7 separate regions of the Homo sapiens genome follow, and regions 2, 3, 4, 5, 6 and 7 are each linked to region 1. The links are contacts of gene promoters, found by promoter capture Hi-C in blood cells and fetal thymus (Javierre and others, 2016). All regions are on one chromosome and are shown on one strand. Each heading gives the region's core, a stretch centred on a gene start or on the middle of the fragment in contact. The rest is flanking DNA. Distances are from core to core; before and after follow the strand shown. Region 1 holds the start of ZNF227 (zinc finger protein 227). Region 2 overlaps ZNF585A (zinc finger protein 585A). Region 3 overlaps ZNF585B (zinc finger protein 585B). Region 4 overlaps ZNF585B (zinc finger protein 585B). Region 5 overlaps ZNF383 (zinc finger protein 383). Region 6 has its middle 4.2 kb from the start of ZNF875. Region 7 overlaps ZNF569 (zinc finger protein 569).

What was found. Contacts are between HindIII fragments. The CHiCAGO score rates a contact against its expected background, and 5 or more counts as called.
Region 2: a fragment that was not itself captured here is called in contact with the fragment with the promoter of ZNF227 in region 1 in 2 of 17 cell types (total CD4 T cells and non-activated CD4 T cells); the score reaches 7.3 in total CD4 T cells.
Region 3: a fragment that was not itself captured here is called in contact with the fragment with the promoter of ZNF227 in region 1 in 2 of 17 cell types (total CD4 T cells and total B cells); the score reaches 9.8 in total CD4 T cells.
Region 4: a fragment that was not itself captured here is called in contact with the fragment with the promoter of ZNF227 in region 1 in 3 of 17 cell types (total CD4 T cells, total B cells and total CD8 T cells); the score reaches 12.8 in total CD4 T cells.
Region 5: a contact is called between a fragment that was not itself captured here and the fragment with the promoter of ZNF227 in region 1, in 8 of 17 cell types (activated CD4 T cells, total B cells, total CD4 T cells and 5 more). The highest score is 14.1, in activated CD4 T cells.
Region 6: a fragment that was not itself captured here is called in contact with the fragment with the promoter of ZNF227 in region 1 in 1 of 17 cell types (non-activated CD4 T cells); the score reaches 6.4 in non-activated CD4 T cells.
Region 7: a fragment that was not itself captured here is called in contact with the fragment with the promoter of ZNF227 in region 1 in 2 of 17 cell types (non-activated CD4 T cells and total CD4 T cells); the score reaches 12.6 in non-activated CD4 T cells.

The regions. Positions count from the first base shown.
Region 1 is chr19:44,210,771-44,214,623 of GRCh38, reverse strand. ZNF227 (zinc finger protein 227) reads right to left here and starts at 2,092. Exons shown (of 6, transcript NM_182490.3): 1 at 2,039-2,092; 2 at 1,380-1,534. The HindIII fragment of the contact is 5,683 bases long and covers 1-3,016 here.
Region 2 is chr19:37,162,932-37,166,784 of GRCh38, reverse strand. The region is part of intron 2 of ZNF585A (zinc finger protein 585A); the gene reads left to right. Among named protein-coding and RNA genes, the nearest start is that of ZNF585A, 7.8 kb to the left of the region's middle. The HindIII fragment of the contact is 9,329 bases long and covers 1-3,853 here.
Region 3 is chr19:37,179,613-37,183,465 of GRCh38, reverse strand. It overlaps ZNF585B (zinc finger protein 585B), which reads left to right. Exons shown (of 5, transcript NM_152279.4): 5 at 1-1,887. Among named protein-coding and RNA genes, the nearest start is that of ZNF585A, 8.8 kb to the right of the region's middle. The HindIII fragment of the contact is 2,530 bases long and covers 989-3,518 here.
Region 4 is chr19:37,204,738-37,208,590 of GRCh38, reverse strand. ZNF585B (zinc finger protein 585B) reads left to right here. Exons shown (of 5, transcript NM_152279.4): 2 at 1,337-1,551. The coding sequence starts at 1,480. Among named protein-coding and RNA genes, the nearest start is that of ZNF585B, 3.9 kb to the left of the region's middle. The HindIII fragment of the contact is 4,710 bases long and covers 1-3,853 here.
Region 5 is chr19:37,221,334-37,225,186 of GRCh38, reverse strand. It overlaps ZNF383 (zinc finger protein 383), which reads right to left. Exons shown (of 6, transcript NM_001387601.1): 2 at 248-369. Among named protein-coding and RNA genes, the nearest start is that of ZNF383, 5.0 kb to the right of the region's middle. The HindIII fragment of the contact is 239 bases long and covers 1,989-2,227 here.
Region 6 is chr19:37,328,490-37,332,342 of GRCh38, reverse strand. It overlaps a transcript of ZNF875 not described here. Among named protein-coding and RNA genes, the nearest start is that of ZNF875, 4.2 kb to the left of the region's middle. The HindIII fragment of the contact is 7,336 bases long and covers 1-3,853 here.
Region 7 is chr19:37,458,264-37,462,116 of GRCh38, reverse strand. The region is part of intron 2 of ZNF569 (zinc finger protein 569); the gene reads left to right. Among named protein-coding and RNA genes, the nearest start is that of ZNF569, 7.3 kb to the left of the region's middle. The HindIII fragment of the contact is 7,320 bases long and covers 1-3,853 here.

The DNA.
Region 1 (3,853 bases), core at 843-3,342:
GGCGGATTACCTGAGGTCAAGAGTTCAAGATTAGCCTGGGTAACACGGTGAAACCCCGTCTCTACTAAAAATACAAAAATTAGCTGGGAGTGATGGCGCACACCTGTAACCCAGTTACTCGGGAGCTTGATGCAGGAGAATCACTTGAACCTGGGAGGTGGAGGTTGCAGTGAGCTGAGATCACGCCACTGCACTCCAGCCTGGGCAACAAGAGTGAATCTCCATCTCACAAAAAAAAAGAAAAAAAAAGAAAAAAGAAAATTTTCATAATAAGAAAAAAACTACTACACAGAATACCAAACCTATTTTGAGAAACATCCATAGCATATACTAAAGGGAAACACATTAAAGTGTTAGCAGTTTTATTATAAGTAATTTAAGTTTTCTGAATATAACATCACTGTCCAATAGAAATATACTGAGACACATAAATAATTTTAAATTTTCTAGCAGTAACATATAAAAAAGGCAAAAAAACAAAAACAAAAATAGGTGAAGTTAATTTCAACAACATAATTTAAGCCAATGTATCCAAAATATTACCATTTTGACATATAATACAAAAAATTATCAATGAGCCATCTTACATTTTTTGTACAAAGTTTTTGAAATCCAGTGTGTATTTAACACTTACAGCACATCTCAATTTGGACTAGACACATTTCAAGTGCTCCTAGGGCACACATGGCTTATAGCTACTGGATTGGATAGTGCATCTCTATAATGAGCATTCATTACTTCTATAACTAGAATATGACATATTTTGACATGGAATGAAATTAAGTAAGTGAGATGTTGCAGGATTTTTCTAAAAAATTCAAAATTCATCAGTGCAGTTTTTGAGGTCTTCCACAGTAAAATCCATACCTACATTCCCAAGGCTGATTTCCAACGACTCACCGGTAGCCATATGGATTACTATTTAAGATAACTGAAGACGACTGTATCATTGAGATTAAGACCACAGACTCAGAAAAAGGAATAGAAAATAAACAACAACAAAAACCAAAGAAACAAAAACAAACAAAAAAGATCACACAGTCTGAAAAGGAATGCTTGGGTTCAATCCCAAATCCACCTCTTACTATCAGTTGAATAACTTCGGGAAAGTATTTAATAACATAAACTCTGCCTAATTTCCTCATAACAAAATAACAAGACCTACTTCATCAATAGCTATGGTCCACAGACGAATGCCTTAAAATCAAAGTGGTAAGATGTTATTGGTAATACTCATTTCCAAGTAGTTTTCCTACCCACTCTCACATTTATTCAACAAATATTTCATCATTTTTCAGTAGTAACTTACTGAGTGACGGAAACTTGATTAACTGAAAGGACAGAAAATGGAACAACAAAGTGCGTTCAAGAGCAGGTACCTGGGGCTATGCTGGGAGAAGCCAAGAAGTCCCTCCTTCCTCCTCTTTGCAAATTCGGAGGCGGTGAATAAAAGGATGCTGTCAGCACGATGGAGTCTCTATCCCGGATAAACGGCGGTAAACATCCCCACGCATTGGAGCCCGATGACTCAATCCTTCTTAAAAAAAAAAAAGATCTGTAAAAGTTCGGGAAGAGCTCGGTCTCCTGAAGGATACGACAGAAAGGCCATGGCATAAAGCCCTGACTTTTCTTCTCTCTTCACTGGAGCTTCCAGTAAAAAGGGCGCTTGTGAGGGAATCACTGTATCAATAGCAGGAGCCAACCCAGTATCAGGTGCCACCACTGTTCTAAGGTTTGACCCGTATTATCTTGTTTAATTCTAATTACAACCCTACACAGTAACGACTATCTTTATTGCTATTTTAAAGATGAGGAAACAGGAGCGCGGATCATAGGTAACTCGCTGTTTATTATACCCACAGAACTAGCGGCGCTGCTTGCCAAGTGCGGGAGGAGAGCAAACTTCCCGCCCTCGGCCTCTCGGCCTCCGCCGCGGCCGCGACCTCTCCATCCCAAGACTGATGGCTGGGGAGCGCCTATTCCCAAGCACAGGCTGAAAAGGTTCAAGAGGGGTCGTGGGGGTGCAGGGCTGACTCACCTCCCGGACCCAAAAGATGGTGGCGGCCTCGCTTTCCGGGGCGGAAGTGGCTCTGCCTGCCCAGAGCTCCTGAACTACCCTTCCCAGAAGGCCCGCGCTCCTGCGGCCCAATTGTTTCCGGACAGAGTTCTGGAATACGTTTCCCAGAACTTCCAGAAGGAAAAACCATCCAGGTGCCGCCCTCTTCGCGCTTGAAAAAAAAAAAAACAAAAAAAAAAACGGAGCGAGCGAGTGAGAGAGGGTTACGGAGAGTGTGACAAAATTCTCGGAGCTCCCGGACTACAACATCCAGAATCCTCTTCACGGCTTATTGCTGTTTAGCCAGGCTGAAGCAGTTCTCTGATGTCAGTGGAATTTAGGTTTTTCTTATTAACAAAAAGTAACAGCAAATATGTGAAGAATTGGAGCCCTAAAATAAAAAAAGACTCCCAGCACTTTGGGAGGCCGAGGCGGGCGGATCACGAGGTCAGGAGTTCCAGACCAGCTTGGCCAATATGATGAAGCCCCGTCTCTACTAAAAATATAAAAATTAGCCGGGCGTGGTGGCGCGCGCCTGTAGTCCCAGCTACTTGGGAGGCTGAGGCATAAGAATCGCTTGAACCCTGGAGGGTGCAGTGAGCCAAGATCGTGCCACTGCACTCCAGCCTGGGCGACAGAGTGAGACTCTGTCTCAAAAAAAAAAAAAAGAAAAAAAAAACTATTATAAGAAACAGATCACGTGATCCTGTACTAATAGAATTATACCCACCACTTCCAAAAAAAAAAAAAAAAAGGGCAGAGGAAACCCTTTAAGTTTTTACATTTAACAGGATCGACTAATAGAAAAACTACTCTTTAGATACTAAAAGAATGAAAGAGCAATCAAAAAATGCAACGAAGGCAGAATATATTATGGATTTCCACTTTTCTTAATAGCACAGTCATATAATTCAGAACAACTTGCTTACTGAGGATAGCTAGACATAGAAAACACAAGCTTTGGCATATGGTAGATCAACTCCACAAAGCAACTAGGGCCTCTGTAATCATTCCTCAAGGAGTTTCTGAATTTGAAAGATGAACAAATTTATTACTTCAGTGTTTAAACCTTGATCTTTATTTGCTTAAATGTATAATGGAATTGATGTTTCCAAGAATTGAGGGTTGAAAGAAGAGAGCAATACCTAAAAATATCCACATATCTACTACAGTACATGTTTGCAGTTCTCATTTACTAAATATATATTCTTTATTCTGTTATATACAACTATCTCTTATAAAGAACCAAGTATGTGCCAGGAACTAGTTCAAACTATTCAGACTATGGGACCCTCACTACATTTTCACAACTTTTTTCTTTTTTTTTTTGTTCTGTTTTGTTGTTGTTGTTGTTGTTGTTGTTGTTAGACAGAGTTTGGCTCTTTTGCCCAGGCTGGAGTGAAGTGGCATGACCTCGGCTCATTGCAACCTCCGCCCTCACACAAGGTTCAAGCAAGTCTCCTGCCTCAGCCTCCCAAGTCGCTGGGGTTATAGGCACCCCCCTCCCCACCACGCCCAGCTAATTTTTGTATTTTTAGTAGAGACGGGGTTTTGCCATCTTGGCCAGGCTAGTCTTGAATTCCTGACCTCAGGTGATCCACCCGCCCCGGCCTCCCAAAGTGCTAGGATTACAGGCATGAGCCACCACACTTAGCCCATTTTCACAACTTTTTTAAAACAAATAATGTCCTCTAGTTTACTCTTTGGGATCCAGAGGCAGAGAGAGGTTAAGTATATCTCCTAAGATGGAAATTTGATTATTTTCACCTGCATGTCTATCCAGTGCCCTTAAGAGAA
Region 2 (3,853 bases), core at 850-3,349, 7.0 Mb after region 1:
AATTGCTTCTTTTTGGAATCCTGGACGTTTAAAAAAAAAAAAGACCTAAGGTATGAGTTTGACAGAAACACAAGTTGCTGTGTTGATGTGTTGACAATCAAAAAATGTGTTGACAAGTTGATGTGTTGACAATCAAAAAATGGAGTAAATATCTACATAATCAAAGACTGTGCAGCCGGGCATGGTGACTCACACCTGTAATCCCAGCACTTTGGGAGGCCAAGATGGGTGGATCACGAGGTCAGGAGACCAAGACCATCCTGGCCAACGTGGTGGAACTCTGTTTCTACTACAAAAATTAGCCGGATGTGGTGGTGCGCACCTGTAGTCCCAGTTACTCAGGAGGCTGAGGCAGGAGAATTGCTTGAACCCAGGAGGCAGAGGTTGTAGTGAGCCGAGATTGTGCCACTGCACTCCAGCCTGGGGGACAGAGCGAGAGCGAGACTCTGTCTCAAAAAAAAAAAAAAAGACTGGGCAGCATGGTGGCTCACACCTGTAATCCCAGCACTTTGGGAGGCTGAGGTGGGTGGTTCACTTGAGGCCAAGAGTTCAAGACCAGTCTAGTCAACATGGCGAAACCCCATCTCTACTAAAAATACAAAAATTGGCAGGGTGCCACAGTGCAGGTCTGTAATCCCAGGTACTTGGGAGGCTGAGGCAGGAGAATGGCTTGAACCTGGGAGGCGGAGGTTGCAGTGAGCCAAGATCATACCACTGCATTCCAGCCTGGGCGACGGAGCAAGACTGAAAAAAAGACAAAAGAATGTAACAAAACAGGAGAAACAGTTAGTTCCGTACCTAAGATTCAAACAATCATGAATGAATATTATACAAAATCATGCCAAAAATATGAAAGTATAAATAAAAGGATAAAAGTTTACAAAAAATAGATATAATTGGTAAGAATTTAAATGGTTCAAAGTCCTTGAAGAAATTAAAATGTTGATTCAGCATTTCCAACACAGTAAAAAATAATGGAAAGGTCATGCATTTTTATAGTTGGTCATTATGCTGAAGTTTTGGGTAAAGAATAATATTTAAAATTATTCTCAACCTTGCTTTTGGTTTTTGTTTTATTTTGTTTACAGTGTTAACCTTGATGCCTGAAAGAACTGGAAATTATGAAGATAGATTCAGAAGTCAAATATGTTAACTAACTGCATTGAAGAGTAGAAGAAAACAATAGCCTAGTAGGTTTTTACTGGGATTAGTGAAACAACTGCTATGTTCTCAGCAACCCACTCCAAAGCCAAAGTCAAAACTAAAATTGTAAAATATCTCAAAAACAATAAAAATGGTATATATATATCAGAAGCTCTGGTATATAGCAAAACTGTACTAAAAATAATTTAGAAAAATAATTTATCTCATGCAAATGAATAAAAAAATCTAAATGAAAAGGATGAATTTCTTTTTTTTTTTTTTTGAGACATAGTCTTGCTCTGTAGTCAGGCTAGAGTGTAGTGATGTGATCTTGGCTCTGCAACCTCCGCCTCCCGGGTTCAAGCAATTCTCCTGCCTCAGCCCAGCGAGTAGCTGGGAGTACAGGCGTGCGCCACCACGCCCAGCTAATTATTTTGTATTTTTTTAGTAGACACGGGGTTTCACCATGTTGGCCAGGATGGTCTCAACTTTGACCTCGTGATCCACCCGCCTCAGCCTCCCAAAGTGTTGGGATTACAGGCATGAGCCACCGCACCCAGCTGAAAAGGATGAATTTCTAGAACATTAACTACCCCACCAAATCTTTAAATACCATTTACCACATTTTATTTCTAGGTTTTAAGATTTTCATTTTTTAACTTTACTTTTGGCCATATGTGGTGGCTCACACTTGTAATTCCAGCACTTTGGGAGACTGAGGCGGGAGGATTGCTTGAGCCCATGAGTTTGAGACCAGCCTGCACAACATAGTGAGACCCTGTCTCTACAACAAAAACCAAAATTAACTGAGTGTGGTGGTGGGGCACCTGTGATACCAGCTACTTGGGAGGCTGAGATTGGAGGACGGCTTGAGCCTGTCAAGGCTGCAGTGAGCCACGACATTGCCACTACATCCAGCCTAGGTGACAGTGACACCCTGTCTTGAAAACAAAAGCAAAAAACTTCAATAAGATTAGGATTGCAGCATTGGAGAAATTTACTTTTCGAGAGATTATTACGGGTATTTCTTTGTTTTTTGTTTTGTTTTGGGATTGTTGTATAGGCACTTGAAAAGAAAAAAATTTGATAGCTTATCAATAAGATATATAGCTATGAGGTTTCTATAGTATTACTCATTTTTTTCTACTTTGTCTCAAGTTGCTGAGAGATATTATTAAAGTTTCCCACCACAAATGTATTTCTATCTATATTTTCCTATAGTTCTTTTTTTTTTAATTTGAGACAGTGTCTTGCTGTGTCGCCCCGGCTGGAGTGCAGTGGTGCAATCTCGGCTCACTGCAAGCTCCGCCTCCCGGGTCCACGCCATTCTCCTGCCTCAGCCTCCCGAGTAGCTGGGACTACAGGCGCCCGCCACCACGCCCTGCTAATTTTTTGTATTTTTGGTAGAGACTAGCCAGGATGGTCTCGATCTCCCGACCTCGTGATCCACCCGCTTCGGCCTCCCAAAGTGCTGGGATTATAGGCATGAGCCACCACGCCCGGCCTTTTTCCTATAGTTTTTGTTTATAAATTTTGATGTTATGTAGTTTGGTGCACAGATAGTAAATACGGCATCCGAAACTCATTTCACATTGTGTCCTTGTTTAATATTTTTTCCCCTGCAATTCAGCCCTATCTAATATTAAGGAGGAGGCTCTTATTTCTTTTCTGTTGGCAACTCCAGATATGCCTTTGGTCATCTTTTTAATGTCATCCTTTGGAGTTCTTGTGCTTTTTTGTGTGTGTGTGTGGAAAGATGCATTTTATGTTATGCTTCTGATGTGGCTATTTTATAAATCTTTCACTATATACTCTATATTTGTGCTTTGTTTCTGTGTGTCTTCCATGTAATTTGGAATGTTTGGATTCTTTTTTGTTTTTGTGTGTGTGTGTGTGTGTGTGTCATCTTTATGATGTTAACTTCTTGAACTAAATATTCGAATCTACTCTTTAAGACAGTATTTATTAAATTTGTACTGTGAATAATGATAACAGTTCTACACTGCCAATTCAAGGATTCTTTTGTTCATTGGATGTTTTTATTAAACTCCTCTTATTTTCTTTAAAAAATATCTTTATTTCCGTCTCATGTTGCTCACTTGCCTTAATCTGCTCTTTGCCACCTTTTGTGTTTTTGCAGGGTCTTCTCATTTTTTTCAGGGAGACTTTTATTTTTGTGTTGCTTTTTTTTTTTTTACTTTTTTACTGAGTTCTGTTAATTTATTTTTCAGAAATTTATATCACTATATTCTTAATCTGTTTTTCCCTAAGCAGTTAATTGTTTTAGTAAATTCCTTGAATTCATGGAGGTTATGATTTCTTCTGTTGTATGTCAATTTATTTCTAGTGTATTCTTCTTAATCTCCTCTCTTTTTTTTTTCATCCTTTTACTCATAGCATCTTTGTACATCAGGAGATGTTTATTGTCTTTGAATGAGGAGATTTCTTCCTGACAAACTGTTTGTATAAGATCATTTGGTGAGGTGTCAAAACTCCATTCTAGCCTAACATGACATTGTCTTGATTCCCCATTAAATTTTTTGATGACATTAGTTTTGGGGGCTGGGGGTTCAGTGTGTGTAGGGCATGAATATGCAAGTGTGTGATGAAGAGAAAACTAGAGCATGCGTCTTCATTTCAGGTATATAGGGAACTTTTTTTTTGGTTTAAGTTTATAGGTACAAGGGCAGGTTTGTTATATAGGTTAACT
Region 3 (3,853 bases), core at 1,004-3,503, 7.0 Mb after region 1:
CACTAGAAAATATTTCCCTTTTGTTCACCACTATGAGTCTAGACCCATGACTGCCATACAGCAGGCATTCCATAAATGCACCTGTGGAGAGTTGACCCATGCTTGTTGCGTGACTTCTGTCTGATTTTTTTCTGTGTTGCAGCATAAGAAGCGCTAATAGGGAGAACCAACTTGGCTAAAACACACCAGGCTTTTTCACCTCTAGTCTGTACCTGGGCTGTATCCCTTCTCAACCCTAAAGCTAAAAAGTCATTGTGAACCTTTTGGTCTGATGCTAAAGAAGGGAAAACAGGTACAGGAAATCCCATGTGGATGCTTGCTTCCAGGATTTCCTGCCATGATTCCAGAATCCCACAGCTCCAACATGATTGCAAAAGACTCCCTGCTCATTTTTCCTCAGCATGCACAGCGCTGTCCTGTCTCAGTTGCAACTCGACAGAGCCGCATTTACTCCAGAACCCAATCCACACACCTGCTCATCCTGCCCCGAGAGGAGTGCCTGAAGCCAATAGCAGGGAACTAGAGCAGACTTGGGTGGATCTTCATTGGATATTAGGTATCTTGCCCTAGATAGGCAGCAGTGGCCTTACAGATGCTGACAGATGATCTGATTAGATGCACAGTTGCTGGGTGGCGTCTGGGGCCAGTCTATTGGCAGTTCTGGGAGTGGGAACTATTTGGGCTCTGCAAAGATGGTTTCACCTTTAAGAAGGGCAGTATGGGGAGGTGAAGATGGGGCCCAAAGGATAGAACATAGTCAAAGAAGCAGGGCCACAATGCCCCTTTAATTCCCAAGCCCTAGTTGGGCAGTGCTTGGTGACACATCCCATTACCTCACCTTAGATCAATGTCTACTGAGCCATCATTAGCTCTGCTTCCTCACTTCTTCACAGTATCTGATGGCCCATCACATGCTGCTCAACATCTTAGACCAATGTCTGCTCACCCATTACCTCCCTTCACCTCATCCAGCACTGTATCTGAAGCTTCACTATTCTTCCTTCAGTTTTGGATATTTTGTGATACAACATTATCCCCAACTTAGGACAATGTCAGCTGACTCTCAGGAGGGTGCCTGGAGATCACCTCTTCCTTCCTAACATACCCTAGAACAAGGTCTGGTCCCCTTCATTATTCCCATTTTACCTTACTCCTAAGTGTATCACTCCTCATGAATTCCAGGAAATATGGAGGAAAACACATTTCACTGTACATGACTTTCAATAATTTCTCCTTTATATTTATTGTAACGTGATATTTTAGTGCTGACATATATATGTATATGTATGCCCATTTATATAAAAGACTAGTTTTTAGAGAAATTTTAGGTTCACAGCAAAATGGGGCAGAAGGTACAGAGATTTCCCATATATCCCCTACCCTCACATATACACAGCCTCCCCCATCATCAACATCCCCCTTCAGAGTGGTACATTTGTTACAATTGATGAAACTACATTGACACTATCGGCCAAAGTCCATGGTTTAATTAGGGTTCAGTCTTGATGTGCATTCTGTGGGTTGAGACAAATGAATAATGACATGTATGCATTATTACAGAAGGATAAAGAGCCGTTTCACTGTCCCAATAATCCTCTGTGTTTCGCCTACTCCTCTAAACTCCTGGCTATTTTCTTTTGTCTCCATAATTTTGCCTCTGAACCATAAAGTATGCAGCCTTTTCAGATTGATTTGTTTCACTTAGTAATGTGGATTTAAGTTTCTTCCATGTCTTTTCGTAGCTTGCTAGCTCTTTTTTTTTTTTTTTTCTCATTGAATAATATGCTATTGTCTGGAAGTACCATGACTTATTTATCCATTCACCTACTGAAGGACACCTTAATTGCTTCCAAGTTTTGTTGATTATGAATAAAGATGCTATAAACACCTGTGTGCAGGTTTTTGTGTGAACATGACTGTAATATTTTAAGGTCGTATTTATTGAGGTATAATTTACATACAGTAATATTCACCCTTTTTAGTGTGGAATTCTCAAAGTTTTGACAATTACATCATGCAGTCAATACCACAGTCAAGACAGAGAACAGTTCCCTCACTTCCCTACATTTCCTCCTATTACTTTTTAGTCCATCCCTTTGCCCACCCCCAGGCCTTGATGATCACAAGCCCATTTTCTGTCTGTATAATTTTGCCTTTTCCACATGTTGTATAAATGGAGACATCCTGTGTGTGTCTCTGTCTGTTTATATATGTGTATGTATCTCTCTTTTTGAGTCGGACTTGTTTCATTTAATGTGATGTATTTGCGATCTATCCATATTGTTATATGAGATAAAAATGGAAAATAAGGTGATGAAAAGATGCTCGACATCTTTAATTTTCAAGAAAATGAAAATGAAAACCACAATGAGATACCTGTACACACCTTTTAGCATGCCTAAAAATAAAGACATAATGCTGAGAGTTGGCAACAATGCAGAGCAATGGAAACTTTCATGCATTGTTGGTAGAAATGTAAAATGTTACATTCACTTTGGGCAAAAAGTTTGGCAGCTTTTTTTTTTTTTTTTGAGATGAAGTTTTGCTCTTATTGCTCAGGCTGAAGTGCAATGGCATGATCTCGGCTCCCCACAACCTCCACCTCCCAGGTTCAAGCGTTTCTCGTGCATCAGCCGCCCAAGTAGCTGGGATTACAGGCATGCACCACCACGCCTGGCTAATTTTATATGTTTTTAGTAGAGGTTTAGTTAAGGGTCTCTCCATGTTGGTCAGGCTGGTCTCGAACTCCTGGTCTCAGGTGATCTGCCCGCCTCAGCCTCCCAAAATGCTGGGATTACAGGCGTGAGCCACCATGCCCAGCCTTGACAGCTTCTTATACTGTTAAACATACACTTATCATATGACCCACCAATCCCTCTCCTAGGTATTTGCCCTAGATAAGTGAAAAATTGTTTATATAAAAACACGGGTACTCAAATTTCACAGCAACTGTATAATTGCCAAAATTAGGAAACAACCCAAATGTAACAGTGGGTGACTAATTAAACAGTGGGTGACTAATTAAACATCTATACAATAGAATACTACCCCAACATGAAAAGAAGTGATTTATTGACACTGGCTGCAACATGGATGAATCTCAGAAGTACTCTTTTATTTTACTATGTGATAGTTTAAATGACATTTGAAAAATTATTAGATACTAGATTATAAATATAGATTTATGTATTTTATTTTATGTGTGCATATCATACACTGTATATTGTGTTGACAGTATGTTATAGCACATTATGATATTATACCTACTACAAAATAGTTTCCATTTTATATAATATATAGTATCGTATGATTATATAATTTTTATATTTTATATATCAAACTTTCATGTAACATTTTAGTTATTTCTACTTTTACATAATCACATTTAATGTTTATAGTATAAAGTTATAACTATAATAACGGGTCATAGGGTTCAGACAGCCTGCAGTTGGAGGTGGTCAATATTTTTATTGTTTGTCAAGAATCCCAATTCTGGCTGATTTAGCACCAAGGAAGCTTTCTCCAGCTTTGGGCTTTTGCACCAACTGTGTTCTCTGGGCATACACTGCTTCCCCAGTGCCCATGCATCTTGCTTTCTTCCCCCATCTTTGAAAAGCATCCACCCCACCATTTGTATCTGAAGTAACACATCCATTGGGGTCACTTTCTGCTGTATTATTTTGTATATATTTGTGTTGCAGGCATCACCATCTGATTTGATATTAAATATTTCTTTTTTTTTGGTTTTTCATCCAACCTTTCCACTAGACCTCATGAGACCTGGACTTGGTCTGTCTTGTTTCTGCTGTGTCCAAGGCACCCAACATGGTGCCAGCACAAAGCAGACATTCAG
Region 4 (3,853 bases), core at 961-3,460, 7.0 Mb after region 1:
CTTTTTTGCTTAGTGATTGCTTAGAGTTAACATTACAAGCAAGCTATCATCACATATTGAAAAAATTTCTTATATATCTTTATGTCGAATTTTATGGTTTATTTAAACATATAATTAGGAAACATAATCAGAAATACCTGTTTTTTTCTGTTATAGCTTCTGGGTTTCCTGTCATGTGTAATAAGATCCTTATCACCCCACCACAATGCTATACAAATATATAGTCTGAAAATTATTTTAATATCCTTAGGGGTTTTAAAAAATGCATGTATTTAAATGTTTAGTGCTCCTGGAATTTGTCTACTTAATAGTGTGAGGTGGGTTGGGCGCGGTGGCTCACGCCTGTAATCCCAGCACTTTGGGAGGCCGAGGCAGGCGGATCACAAGGTCAGGAGATCAAGATCATCCCAGCCAACATGGTGAAACCCTGACTCTACTAAAAATACAAAAATTAGCTGGGCGTGGTGTCGCATGCCTGTAGTCCCAGCTACTTGGGAGGCTGAGGCAGTAGAATCACTTGAACTCTGGAGGTGGAGGTTGCAGTGAGATGAGGTTGTGTCACTGCACTCCAGCCTGGCCACAGAGCGAGACCCCATCTTAAAAGAAAAAAATATTGTGTGAGGTGGAGATCTAGTTTGTTTTATTCCAGATGCATGGCCAATTGCATGCACCAATTGGGGATATGTATACAATGAATGCCGTGTGCACACTCAATCGCATATCATTTTTATTTCATATATAGATCAACATTGTCTGATATGTTTATTATCTTACTTGTTTTGATGACATGGTTTTCTGTATTACGTTTTAATATAGTGCATGGTAATTGCTGATATTTATTGCGTGATTCTTGCATGGCAGGGAGGCATTGAGTACTTTAAAAGCATAATCTCATTTAATCTTAGTAACTGTGACACAGGCATTTTCATCCTTATTTCTGAAACAAAATCTGAGTAACTTCTTTATATTCTCATTGTTGAAAAGTGGTACAGCTGCAGTTCAAATCTGCAGTAATGTTACTCTAAATTTCATGGCTTTTCCCATATTTCAGCACTGTTCTCCACAGTTCTGAAAGTGTGGTTCTTGTACCAGCAGCATCAGCATTTCCTGGGCACTTATTAGAAAATAAAATTCTTAGGGCCTACCTTAGACCCATCGAAGGGGTGAAGTTGAGAATTTTAAACTATGTTTTAACAAGCCCTCCAGGTGACTTGAATGCATACCTACGTTTGGGAACCACTGCTCTGGTTTCTAGCGCAGGGACCTGCACCTTGGTGTATCCAGGAAGTGTTTATGTAGTGAATGTTGAATGACTACGTGGACATTGTTTTTCTAGGTTCTTGGGTGTCTCTGGGGAGTCCCTGGGCCAGACCTTCCTCCAGACTCCAGCCCACCTCTTCGGAGCAGCTCTGCTGAGTTCACAGATGACCACTAAACTTCAGGCACCCTAGACAAAAAGGGTTGAGATCCAGTGTGGCCATGCCAGCTAGTTGGACCTCACCCCAGAAATCCTCAGCCCTGGCTCCAGAGGATCATGGCAGCTCCTATGAGGTGAGGAGGAGGAGTCCCAAGGGGTGGAATTTCAGTCCAAGAGTAGATAGCTCTAATCTGTCACCACAGCCTTAGGGCAGAGGCAGACAGGCCTTAGGAACCAGCTGGACTCTAGACTTGGTGCTCCTGAAAGAAAACTTGATCTTCCTGTCAAGAATGAACACGTGGGTAATGTCTCCGTCTCTGGAGGCCACCTGTGTGACAGTGGAGAGGTGCACTGTCAAGGAAAACTGTTGTTGATTTTGTCATCACGCTATATTGATGTTTTGGCTGCAAATAGAATTCCTTGTTAGAAGTGACTTTTGTTTGAGATTTTGAAAGCATTTTTTCATTTCTTCCTAAACCACCTCCTCAAACACAAATGTTTTCTCTGTTTTCTTTCTGAAACTTGTTTTTCAGATGTTGCTTCTCCATTTCTTTTCTCTACTATTTTCTATGTATTTCCTGCTATCCATTCTGGGTAACTTTGACACCTTTTGCCTTCCAGCCCTTCTATTGAGCTTCTCATTACCACTATCCACATTTTAACTTAATGTTTTAATTTTTAAAAACTCTAGTTTGTTTCCTAAAATTTTTTTTTTTTTTTTTGAAACAGAGTTTTGCTCTCATTGCCCAGGCTGGAGTACAATGGCATGATCTCGGCTCACTGCAACCTCCGCCTCCTGGGTTCAAGAGATTCTCCTGCCTCAGCCTCTCAAATAGCTGGGACTACAGGCATGTGCCACCTCGTTCGGCTAATTTTGTATTTTTAGTAGAGACGGGGTTTCTCCGTGTTGATCAGGCTGATCTCGAACTCCTGATCTCAGGTGATCTGCCCACCTCAGCCTCCCAAAGTGCTGGGATTACAGGCATGAGCCACTGTTCCCAGCCTGTTTCCTAAATTTTTTTTTATTGCCATCCCGTTCTTATTTCATGGATGTAATGTTATTTTTTAAATTATTTATTTATTTATTTATTTATTGATGGAGTTTTGCTCTTGTTGCCTAGGCTGGAGTGCAATGGCATGATCTCCGCTCACTGCAACCTCTGCCATCCAGGTTCAAGCAATTCTCCTGCCCCAGCCTCCTGAGTAGCTGAGATTACAGGTGCGAGCCACCACGCCTGGCTAATTTTTGTATTTTTAGTAGAGATGGTGTTTCACCATCTGGGCCACGCTGGTCTCGAACTCCTGACCCTCAGGTGATCCACCTGCTTCGGCCTCCCAAAGTGCTGGGATTACAGGTGTGAGACACCATGCCCGGCCTGGGTGTATTGTTATTTCTTATCCATCTGAAGATATTGTGATAATTTATTAGGAATAGTTTAATCTTTTGAATAGGCAATGCATATACCTAGTTCAAAAGTTAGAAATATATGAAAAGCAATATATTGAAAAGTATTATGGTGAAAGAGATGGGACTGTGGTTCACCCACCTCTGCCTTCCATCTACCTGTGTCTCCCGGTAGTGATAACCTGCTTTATTCATTTTCTTTGATTGCTTAGTTCTGTATACAAATGAAAACAACTACAATTTTTTTCTCTTGATTTCAGAATGGCATAGCAGATTAACTTTTTTGTACATTGCTGTTTTAATGTTTGTTTGGTAAAATACAGAAACTATTATGAACAATATCGCAGTGGATATTGTCATGCCTTCTCTTTCTATTGGATATATTAGAAGTAGTGGAATTTCATTTCAGGGTTCTAGTCACGTGGTGAGAGTCTCATCTGCACCTCAGTGAACCTCTACTTTAGTTGCTCTTGGGCAGTTTTAGGATTGAGTATCTTAATAATTTTATTCTAGAAGATAGGAAGGATAGCTTGAGGCTAAAGTTACAGTTGGTAAAGCAGCAGCAGTTGGCTGGGCACGGTCGTTCACACCTGTAATCCCAACACTGGAAAGCCAGGGTGGGAGGATGGCTTGAGGCCAGAAGTTCAAGACCAGCCCTGGCAATGTAGTGATTCCCTGTCACTACCAAAAAAAAAATTTAATTAAATTAAAAATTAGTTTGGGCCTGGTGCGGTAGCTCACACTTATAATCCCAGCACTTTGGGAGGCTGAGGCAGGCAGATTGCCTGAGGTCAGGAGTTCGAGACCAGCCTAGCCAACATGGTGACGCCCCGTCTCTACTAAAAATAAAAAATATTTGTCAGGCATGGTGGCGTACGCCTGTAATCCCAGCTACTCAGGAGGCTGAGGCAGGAGAATCGCTTGAACCTAGGAGGCAGAGGTTGCAGGGAGCTGAGATTGCACCACTGCACTCCAGTCTGGGTGACAGAGTGAGCCTCTGTCTCAAAAAAAAAAAAAAGAAAAACAATTAG
Region 5 (3,853 bases), core at 859-3,358, 7.0 Mb after region 1:
GAGGCAGAGGTTGCAGTGAGCCAAGATCGCACCATTGCACTTCAGCCTGGGCAACAAGATCAAAACTCATCTCAAAAAAAAAATTATTAAGATGGCCAGGCGTAGTGGCTCATGCCTGTAATCCCACCACTTTGGGAGGCCAAGGCAGGTGATCACGAGGTCAAGAGTTCAAGACCAGCCTCACCAATATGGTGAAACCCCGTCTCTACTAAAAACACAAAAATTAGCCAGGCATGGTGGCACCCACCTGTAATCCCAGCTACTCAGGAGGCTGAGGCAAGAGAATCGCTTGAACCCGGAAAGCAGAGGCTGCAGTGAGCTGAGATCATGCCACTGCACTCCAGCTTGGGCAACAGAGTGAGACTCCGTCTAAAAAAAAAAAAACAAAGATTAAGATGGTAAATTTTACATTGTCTTTTATACCACAATTAAAATGAAAACAAAATCATTGAAAAAAAAAAAAAAGCTAGCTGGGCATGGTGGCACATTGTCTGTAGTCCCAGCTACCCGGGAGGCTGTGATGGGACAATCACCTGAGCCTGGAAGGTCGAGTTTGCAGTGAGCTGTGACTGCACCACTGCACTCCAGCCTGGGTGACAGAGTGAGAGGCCCGTCTCTCAAAAAAAGAAAAAAACAAAAAACCAGAAAAATCTACATGTTCAATGAAGTATAAAAAGGGACCCAGTATAATGATCAGTGGCTCAGATTCCAATGAGCTTATTTTGTGGAACCAAGTCCCAGGTACCAAACACTAATTAATTAATTGAGCCCTCAGCCTTTAAGTTAAGTCTGTGGTTGGTTTAATTTTCCTCTTATCAGATATTGGCAATTTTTGTGTTACTTCATATTTTAAGTTTTGTTAGAGATTTATTAATTTTATTAATTCCCAAAAATAAGCTTTTGCCTTTGTTAGTTTTCTTCACTGTACATTCATTTTGTATTTCAATATATGTTCGTTATGTACAGCAAAACACGTACACCTTAAATATATGCAATACCAAATAAACTAAAAATTTTATATTTGGGCTTTTATTCTTATTATTTCCTAGATTTTAATTTTGGGGGTTTAACTTTCTAGACTTTTCCTTAGCTTCTTGAGATGAATACATAGATCATTAATTTTTCAACATTAATTTTTTTCTTTTTTTTTTCTGAGATGGAGCCTCACTCTGCCGCCCAGGCTGGAGTGCAGTGGCGCGATCTTGGCTCACTGCAACCTCTGCCTCCCAGGTTCAAGCAACTCTCTGCCTCAGCCTCCTGAGTAGCTGAGATTACAGGTGCCCGCCACCATACCTGGCTACTTTTTTTTGTATTTTTAGTAGAGATGGGGTTTCACCATCTTGGCCAGGCTAGTCTTGAACTCCTGACCTCGTGATCCACCAGCCTGGGCCTCCCAAAGTGCTGGGATTACAGGTGTGAGCCACTGCGCCCGGCCAACATTCATTTTTTTCTAACATATGCATTTACAGCTATATATTTTCCTCATATTCAGCTTTAGAAACATAATTTTGGTATGTTATTTTTCATTATCACTCAGTTTAAAATATTTTAAATATCTATCACAATTTATTCTTTGAGTCACCAGTTATTTATAAATACATTGCTTAAATCCCAAACATTGGGATATTTCTTTAATTTTTGTTTTTTTAAATTTAGAAATGGGGTCTTGCTATATTGCCCAGGGTGGCCTAAAACTTCTGGGTTCAAGCAATCCTCCTGCCTCGGTTTCCTAAAGTGCTGGGATTACAGGCATGAGTCACCACACCTGGCTGGGATATTTCCAATTATCTTCTTGTTATTGACTTCTAGCTTAACCTACTGTGGTCAGGAAAGTTACAGTATTATTTCATTCCTTTGAAATTTATTGAGACTCCCTTTGTGGCCCAGCATATGATCAATTTGGATAAATGTCTCATATGCATTTGAAAAGCAAGTATATTATGTAGTTGTAAGGTACACTGTTCTATACATATCAATCAGGTCAAGCTTGTCAATCACACTGTTCAAATACCATATAGCTTTATTGGGTTTGTCACTTGTTCTGTCAGCTATTGAGAAGAGTGCTAAAAACTCCCCACTAAGATTGTGATTTATCTACTACTTCTTTTAGTTATGTCAAATATATTTGAAGCCATTTTATGAAGGCATATAAATTCAGAACTGTTATATCTTACTGGTGAATTGATCTTTTTATTATAAACTATTCCTCTTTATCTCTAGTAAAGCTTCTTGTTGTAAAATCTATTCTTGTCATAAAGTCTACACTGCAGTTTGGAATATAGATTGATACCACTATTTCAGAAAACTGTCAGTATCTATTAGAGCTGAACATATACAGAAACCATGACCCAGCAATTTCACTCCTAGAAATACACCCAAGACAAATGCATTCATATGTGCACCAAAAGACATGTAAAAGAATGTTCCCGGCAGCGTTTTTCATAACAGCCTCAATATGAAATCAAATGCCAATCAGTAATGGAATGGATAAGTAAAATGTGTTATATTCGGCCGGGCACGGTGGCTCACACCTGTAATCCCACCACTTTGGGAGGCCGAGGCGGGCGGATCACCTGAGGTCAGGAGTTTGAGACCAGCCTGGCTAACATGGTGAAACCCCGTTTGTATTAAAAATACAAAAAATTAGCTGGGTGTGGTGGCGTGCGCCTGTAATCTCAGCTACTTGAGAGGCTGAGGCAGGAGAATCGCTTGAACCCAGGAGGTGGAGGTTGTGGTGAGCAGAGATGGTGCCATTGTACTCCACCTTGGGCAACAAGAGCGAAACTGTCTCAAAAACAAAAAAAAGTGTTATATTCATACAACAGAATTTTAAACAGCAATAATAATGTGTTCACTATATTCATTATATCACCTATAACTAACGTGCAGCAACATGGATGAATTTTATATATTTATACTACATATTATTACAGAATACATTCATATTACATACGAAATACAATATTGAGCAAAAGAAGCCAAGCATCATCTCCAAGTGAAACTGACAGTAGGAAAAAAAAAGTGAAAAAAAAAGAAGCCAAGCAAAATTCAAGTATAGGTAAAATTAGTCTATGGCTATAGAAGACAAACTATTAGTTCTCTTTAGGAGAAGTGGGTAGTGAGTGAACTGGACAAGACTTGGGCTTCTGTAATGCCAGTTATGTTTTATTTCCTTATCAGATTTGAGATCTGGTCAAAGGAATATGCTTTTTCTTTTTTTTTTTTTTTTTTGAGACAGAGTCTCGCTCTGTCGGCCAGGCTGGAGTGCGGTGGCACAATCTTGGCTCATTGCAAGCTCCACCTCCCGGGTTCACACAATTCTCCCGCCTCAGCTTCCCAAGTAGCTGGGACTATAGGCGGCCGCCACCATGCCCGGCTAATTTTTTGTATTTTTTTTTTTTTTTTAAGTAGAGACGGGGTTTCACCGTAGCCAGATGGTCTTGATCTCCTGACCTCATGATCTGCCTGCCTTGGCCTCCCAAAGTGCTGGGATTACAGGCACGAGCCACCGCGCCCAGCCCGGAATATGCTCACTTTTATACAAGTCATCAGGTCATATACCTTGATTTTGTACTTTTCAGAATGTATGGTATATATATATATTTGAGACAGGGTCTTGCCCTGTTGCCCAGGATGGAAGGCAGTGGTGCAATCGCAGCTCACTGCAGCCTCAACCTCCCTAGGTTCAAACAATCCTCCCACCTTATCCCCTGAATACCTGGGACAATAGCAGCATGTAACCATGCCTGGTTAATTTTTGTACTTTTTGTAGAGATGGGGTTTCACCATCTTGCCCAGGCTTGTCTCAAACTCCTGGGCTCAAGCAATCTGCCCAGTAGGCCTCCCAAAGTGC
Region 6 (3,853 bases), core at 764-3,263, 6.9 Mb after region 1:
GGGTGTTTCTCGTAAGGTGGGACGAGAGATTTGGAAAAGAAAAAGACACAGAGACAAAGTATAGAGAAAGAAATAAGGGGACCCGGGGAACCAGCGTTCAGCATATGGAGGATCCCGCCAGCCTCTGAGTTCCCTTAGTATTTATTGATCATCTGTGGGTGTTTCTCGAAGAGGCGGATGTGTCAGGGTCACAAGACAATTGTGGGGAGAGGGTCAGCAGACAAACACGTGAACAAAGGTCTTTGCATCATAGACAATGTAAAGGATTAAGTGCTGTGCTTTTAGATATGCATACACATAAACATCTCAATGCTTTACAAAGCAGTATTGCTGCCCGCAGGTCCCACCTCCAGCCCTAAGGCGGTTTTTCCCTATCTCAGTAGATGGAGCATACAATCGGGTTTTATACCGAGACATTCCATTGCCCAGGGACGGGCAGGAGACAGATGCCTTCCTCTTGTCTCAACTGCAAGAGGCATTCCTTCCTCTTTTACTAATCCTCCTCAGCACAGACCCTTTACGGGTGTCGGGCTGGGGGTGTCGGGCTGGGGGACGGTCAGGTCTTTCCCTTCCCACGAGGCCATCTTTCAGACTATCACATGGGGAGAAACCTTGGACAATACCTGGCTTTCCTAGGCAGAGGTCCCTGCGGCCTTCTGCAGTTTTTGTGTCCCTGGGTACTTGAGATTAGGGAGTGGTGATGACTCTTAAGGAGCATGCTGCCTTCAAGCATCTGTTTAACAAAGCACATCTTGCACCGCCCTTAATCCATTTAACTCTGAGTTGACACAGCACATGTTTCAGAGAGCACGGGGTTGGGGGTAAGGTTATAGATTAACAGAATCTCAAGGCAGAAGAATTTTTCTTAGTACATAACAAAATGGAGTCTCCTATGTCTACTTCTTTCTACACAGACACAGTAACAATCTGATCTCTCTTGCTTTTCCCCACATGGGCGTGGTGGCCACTGCCTGTAATCCAGCTACTTGGGAGGGTGAGGCAGGAGAATCACTTGAACCCAGGAGGCAGAAGTTGCAGTGAGCCAAGATTGTGCCATTGCACTCCAGCCTTGGCAACAAGAGCGAGACTCTCAAAAAAAAAAAAAAAAAAAGCAAGGAGTTATTAGCTCTATACACTTTTTTTTTTTTTTTTTTTTGAGACAGAGTCTCACTCTGTCGCCCAGGCTGGAGTGCAGTGGTGCCATCTCGGCTCACTGCAAGCTCCGCCTCCCAGGTTCACGCCATTCTCCTGTCTCAGCCTCCCGAGTAGCTGGGACTACAGGCGCCTGCCACCTCGCCTGGCTAATTTTTTTGTATTTTTAGTAGAGATCGGGTTTCACCATGTTAGCCAGGATGGTCTCGATCTCCTGACCTCGTGATCCACCCGCCTCAGCCTCCCAAACGCTGGGATTACAGGCGTGAGCCACCACGCCCAGCCAAGCTCTATATACATTTATAGAAGAAACTTCTAATTTGAAAAACTCAAAGTTTTAAGTAACAATGATCACAAAAGGGGAAGAACAAACTTCCAGAATCTTGGGGACAGAGGGTGGTGTGGTGGGAAGAGAGGGAATTACTCTGTCACCAATGAGTCAAAAAAGTTATTAAAGATTAATTTTAAATGAATAAAACTAAAAACCAAGACTTACAGAATGAGACTAAAACCATGGCTGGAGGAAAACTTTTAGCCTGAAAGTAGCCTATGACTTAGAAATTAAGGCAGAAAACTAAGGAGTAAGCAGTTACCCTTCAGGTTAGAAAACCAACAGAATAACAGGAAATGAGAGAGGGAGGAAATAATCAGATGGGGCTGAGATGGGGGCTTATGGGGATGAAGGAGGCAGGAAGAGCACATTAAGTCTGTGCATAAAGTCACTCCCTAAGGACAGTCCCTGAGAGGAAAGTGGGTGCACAAGGATCAGGCTAGGTGTAAAAGGTGACAGGCAACCCTGGAGGGTACATTCAAGGGTTGACAGTGGCTAAGAAAACAGGAGGGAAAGTCAAGTGTTGAGCCTTTCCTGTCCCTAGCATGGAAGACATCAGGAGCTGATGAGTGAAAGTGATAAACACCATTCTCATCACCAAAAAAAGTCAAGTATTTGAGGTAATGGATAGGATAATTTGACTTAAACATTCCACACTGTATGGAAAAATCATAACATCATTTTGTACCCCATAAATATATACAATTTAAAAGATAGGTAAAAATCAGAAAAAAATTGAAAAAATATTCTTTATTTTTCAAACATATATAATTTATGGAGTACAATCTAATTCATCAATGTATATGATTTTTTTTAATGGTAAGTCAATAAACACAGCAAACAGTCCCTTGAGAGGCAGAGAAGGAAAATGGGCACAATCTGCCCTTAGAAAGACACAGCATTTAAATCCACGCATGTGAGAACTCCAGGATTCAAGACTAGGGGTCAAAACACAACCTGGTTTATCACCTATAGCCACAGGATGGCACCAACACCCACTGCTCCAGCCTGAGCTGGCCAGAGAGAGAGAGCATCCAGGAAAAGCTGGAACCTCCCAGAAGGCCTGAGACCTGCAGGTACCACACTGTAGTCCACTGAAGAGGAGGGCCCAATGTGAGGGGGAAAAAACCACTGAGGAAACATAATATTTGTGTATTTTTAATAAGATATTTAATACGTGTTCAGGTAGAAGTAGGTACAATGACAGAAAATAAGGTAGAGGAATGTGCTAGACACCACAGATACGTAATGATGGACAATAAATGACATGATGTGGAGAGTTCACCCACACATGCAGACTTCTTATGTTCACATAAACATTTATCTGCATGCATCACCCAGTAGAGACAAACTGCACTTACACTGTGAAGTCAACGAGGAGATAAAGTAAAAATCAAATACTTATGGAGAGAGTCAGTCTCTCCATTTAGTGGGAAACCCTTCAGAACACGCACACAGCATCTCCCCTCCCTTCTGAATACCATCCATAGCCTGCAGCAGTAGATGGCAAATCACAGCCTGGGCCACCCTTCCCAGAATGTCAAAAACATGGACATGCAGACCACAGAATTCACCAGATACCCAAGCTGGGTGGTGCGAGGCTCTGAAAGACATGCTTCAAATAAGAGGGACTAGAAAACTCCGCAAGGGAGCAACAGGGATCAGGGATTCCAGGAGGATCCAGGGGCCTGTGCGAAGAGCAAGCAGTGAGCAGATGTGTGTGTCAGTGATTCGGTGGCATGAACTCAACACCATCTAATACAGCAGCTCACGTTTCTTTGTGCATCAGACTCACCTGGGGACTTGTTAAACACAGATTGTTGGGTCTCACTCCTAGAGTTTCTTCTTCAGTATTCTGGGGAGCAGCCTGTGAATCTGTATTTCCAGCATGATTTTCAGGTGCTACTGATACTATTGGTCCAAGGACCACACTATGATCTAATTTAACATCAGATTAGGGGAGGAACTAAGGAGCAAAGAAGCAACAGAATGGACCTGAACCCTGTACGGGCTTCTCTGTAAACTCCTCAAACATAAAAGCCTTCGAGACACTCAAAGAGCATTTACAGCATCATGTCTACAAATACAAGGCACCACGCAGGGAGTGCTCCATCAAGTAGAGAGAAGAGCTCACTGAGTGTCCCTGTCTTAGTCTGTTTGTGTTGCTATAACAGAATACCACAGACTGGGTGATTTATAAGGGTTCACTTGGTTTATGGTTCTGAACACTGGGAAAGTGAGGGGCCTGCATCTGGTGAAGGTCTCGCTGTGTTGTCCTATGCTGGAAGGTAAAAGGGCAAGAGAGTGACCACATGTGAGAGGGAGAAGGGGAAAGACAGAAAGGGAGGAAGCCAACCTCATCCTTTTATC
Region 7 (3,853 bases), core at 640-3,139, 6.8 Mb after region 1:
AGTGAAGTACCTAGCAAGAGACTCAAATGAGAGTGAGATTGGTGGAGGACGTGCTAGAGTTTGAGAAGAACAGGGGAAAAAAAATCACAGAGATTGGGACAGAGAATAGAGAAATTATGATTTTCAGGCACCATCAAAGACCCACTTAATGTTAGTATTTATGAATTTAAAGTGAGCCTATTCTGTGTAGCTGTGTGATTTTTCTCCTGCAGTGTTCATCCGCATAGTTGCAGCCAGACAGGCTAGGGGGAGATTTGGATTTAACCAGAATGTTGGTTTCATGAAGCAAAGAGGAATAATGTGAGAGAGAGGCAAGAAGAGTCTTAAGTTGGCAAAATAATTGATTGTTGTTTTGACTGTGGATTTTAGGCTAGGTAAGTGGAAAAGTGAGGATAGGAAGAGAGTGAAGGACAGTAAAAAATTAGTAGAATCAAGGAATGGAAGCTCCTGACAGGGCTGAAGGACTATTGGGTTGTAATATTAGAGGAAGTAAGGTGAGACATAGAAGGATGGGCTGGGCATGGTGGCTCATGCCTGTAATCCCAGCACTTTGGGAGGCCATAGTGGGCACATTGCGAGATCAAGAGATCAAGACCATCCTGACCAACATGGTGAAACCCTGTCTCTACTAAAAATACAAAAATTCGCTGGGCATGATGGCGCACACCTGTAGTCCCAGCTACTCTGGAGCCTGAGGCAGGAGAATCGCTTGAACCCAGGAGGCGGAAGTTGCAGTGAGCCAAGATCACGCCATTGTACTCCAGCCTGACAGAGTGAGACTCTGTCAAAAAAAAAAAAAAAAAGAGGATATTTTTCATATGTTTTAAAAATAGAACAGTTCTTCTTACCACTATACCGGTTTTAGAAAACATGGATGATTACTAACTAGACCCATTATTTCAGTAAGGGCTACAAAATGGCGATATTCTAATTCTGTCATTACTTCGTTTACTAGCTAGAATATTTTCCTAAAGAAAAAATTTTCCTCGTCAACTCTTTGTTCACCCTTAGGTACAGTTTGTACAGAAAAGGCAGAATAAATGGATTATTTCCCTTTATATGATTTTGAGTTATTGGAGTGGTTCCCTGGCATCTCCTAGTGGGTTGTTTTTATTATTATCACCATTATATATTCATCATTTTTAGCATATTTGATGTGTTTTAAATCACTGCACTTATTTTCTTTTTGAAGCTCAAATTTTTTTGTTAAGTGTTTGCTTGGGTGCAACCTTTGACTATCTCCCAGAATTTCTGAAAATCTGGTTCAGACAGGTTTTGCCTTTTGTTTGTTTTTTTCATTTCTAGGGAAGGATAGGCCACCAGTCTCATCCCTTGACTTTTTTTTTTTTTTGAGACAGGGTATCACTGTATTGCCCAGGCTAGAGTGCAGTGACTATTCACAGATGCAGTCATGGCACACTGCAGCTTTGAACTCCTATGTTCAAGCAAACTTCTGCCTCAGCCCCTGCAAATAGCTTGGACTACAGGTGCACGCTACCACGCCTAGCTTCATCTCTTTACTTGTAACTTGAATGTTAAAGTGGGTTTCTTATAGACATATATAGTTGTTTTTTTTTTTTTAAATGCACTCTGACAATCTGTCTTCTAATTGCTGTGTTTGGACCATTTACACTTGGTGTGATTATTTTTGTAGTTGGATTAACATCTACCATTGGCCAGGCGTGGTGGCTCATGCGTGTAATCCCAGCACTTTGGGAGGCCAAGGCAGGCGAATCACCTGAGGTCAGGAGTTTAGGACCAACCTGGCCAACATGGTGAAACCCTGTCTCTACTAAAAATACAAAAATTAGCCAGGCATAGTGGTGCATGCCTGTAATCCCAGTTGAGGCTGAGGCAGGAGAATTGCTTGAACCCAGGAGACAGAGATTGCAGTCAGCCAAGATCGTTCCACTGCACTCCAGCCTGGGCTGGAGTCTCCAGTGAAACTCTGTCTCAAAAACAAACAAACAAACAAAAAAACACTACCATCTTCCTAGCTCACTACCATCTTCCTAGCTGTTTTCCATTTGCTTCGTATGCAAATAGAAAATTTTTTTATTTCTTTGTTTTGTTTCTTCTCTTCTCCCCTCCTTTGTCTGATTACTACGGTTTTCATTGAGCATTTTATATTATTTCATTTTATCTCCTGTTTACTTTATCATTTATACTTCTTTTAAAAAATTTTAGTGTCACCCTAGAGTTTTCAATGTGTATTTTTAAGTAATCTAAATTCACTTTTGAAAATGCTATACTGCTTCATATGTAGTGCAGGAACTTTACAACAGTATTCCCAGTTCCCCCTTCTTCTCCGTTGTTATGTCACTTGTGATGTCCCTGTCATTCATTTCACTTATCCGTGTGCTGTAATCACCTAATACATTGTTATCATTATAGCCTTTAACAAACATTTATCTTTTAGATCAATTACTAATAAAAGAACCAAAAGATTTTATCTTACCTTCATGATTTTGTCTCTGGTGCTCTTCCTTTCTTTATGTAAATCCATGTTTCTGACCTATATTGTTTTTCTTCTGCCTAAATAACTTTTTAACATTTCTTACAGGGTAGGTCTGCTGGTGATGAATTCCCTTAGTTTTTGTTAGAAATGAAAGTCTTCATTTCTCCTTCAACTTTGAAGGATAATTTCCCTGGATAGAGAGAATTCTAGGTTGGTGGCTCTTTTTCATTTAATGCTTTAGATATTTCACACCACTTTCTTCTTGTTTATATAGTTTCTGACAAGAAGTCTGCTGTAATTTTTATCAGTGTTGTTTTATAGGTAAGGTGTTACTTTTCTCTGGGTTCCTTGACTATCTTTTCTTTGTTTTTTTTTGTTGTTGTTTTTTCAGTTTCAATATGATATACACGTGTGGTTTTTTTTGGTATTTATCTTGCTTAGTGTTCTTTGCGCTTCCTCAGCCTATGGTTTGGTGTGTGTCACTAATTTGAAACATTCATGGACATTATTACTTACAATATTTCATCTGTGTTCTCTTTTTTCTCCTTTTGGTTTTCTAATTGGGAAAATAGATGTCTGTTTAATAGATACATGTTTTGATATTGTCCCATGGTTTGGATGTTCTCCCATGGTTTGGATGTTCTCTTTTGTTTTTCATTCTTTTTCCTCTGTGCATTTTAGTTTGGGAAGTTTCTTTTGAAGTTTCTATTTTCAGGTTCACTGATTGTTTCCTCTACTGTGTTGAGTTTGTTGATGAGTCCATTGAAGGCATTCTTTGTTTTTATTAATATGTTTTTGATTTCTAGCATTTCTTTTGATTCTTTCTTATAGTTCGCATTTCCCTGCTTACAGTACCCATCTCTTTTTCTAACTTTCTCATAGAGCACTCAAAATATTAATCATAGTTATTTTAAATTCATTGCACAAAATTACTGCACATCTTTTCTTATATAGGTTGTGCTGGGCCATGAAACATCAAACCATATGACCAGTCCCTGCCATAAGTGGTTCACAGTCCTACTTAGATAAATCAGTGGGTGCACTGGCAGAGTGATAAATGCCACAAGATGGTTAAGCTCATGAGATACAGAAGTACAAATAGATCTACATAGACGGATATCCCAATCAAATGATAAAGTTGTTCTTAATCTGATCTCTTTAAGAACAAGAAGGTATTGGTCAAAGGCAAGAAGGAACTGATGATCAGCAATCAAGAGATAGTTTTTAGGCATGGAAACGTAATATACAGTAACTGTTAAGGAGCAATGCTTTGTATATTTTAAGAAAGGTATGTAATTATGTATGGCTGGAGTTTACTTTCAAGGAGTGAAAGATGAAGCTAATGAGGTATTCAGAAACAAAATTATAAAAGTTGTCATTGAAGTAATTTAAGGT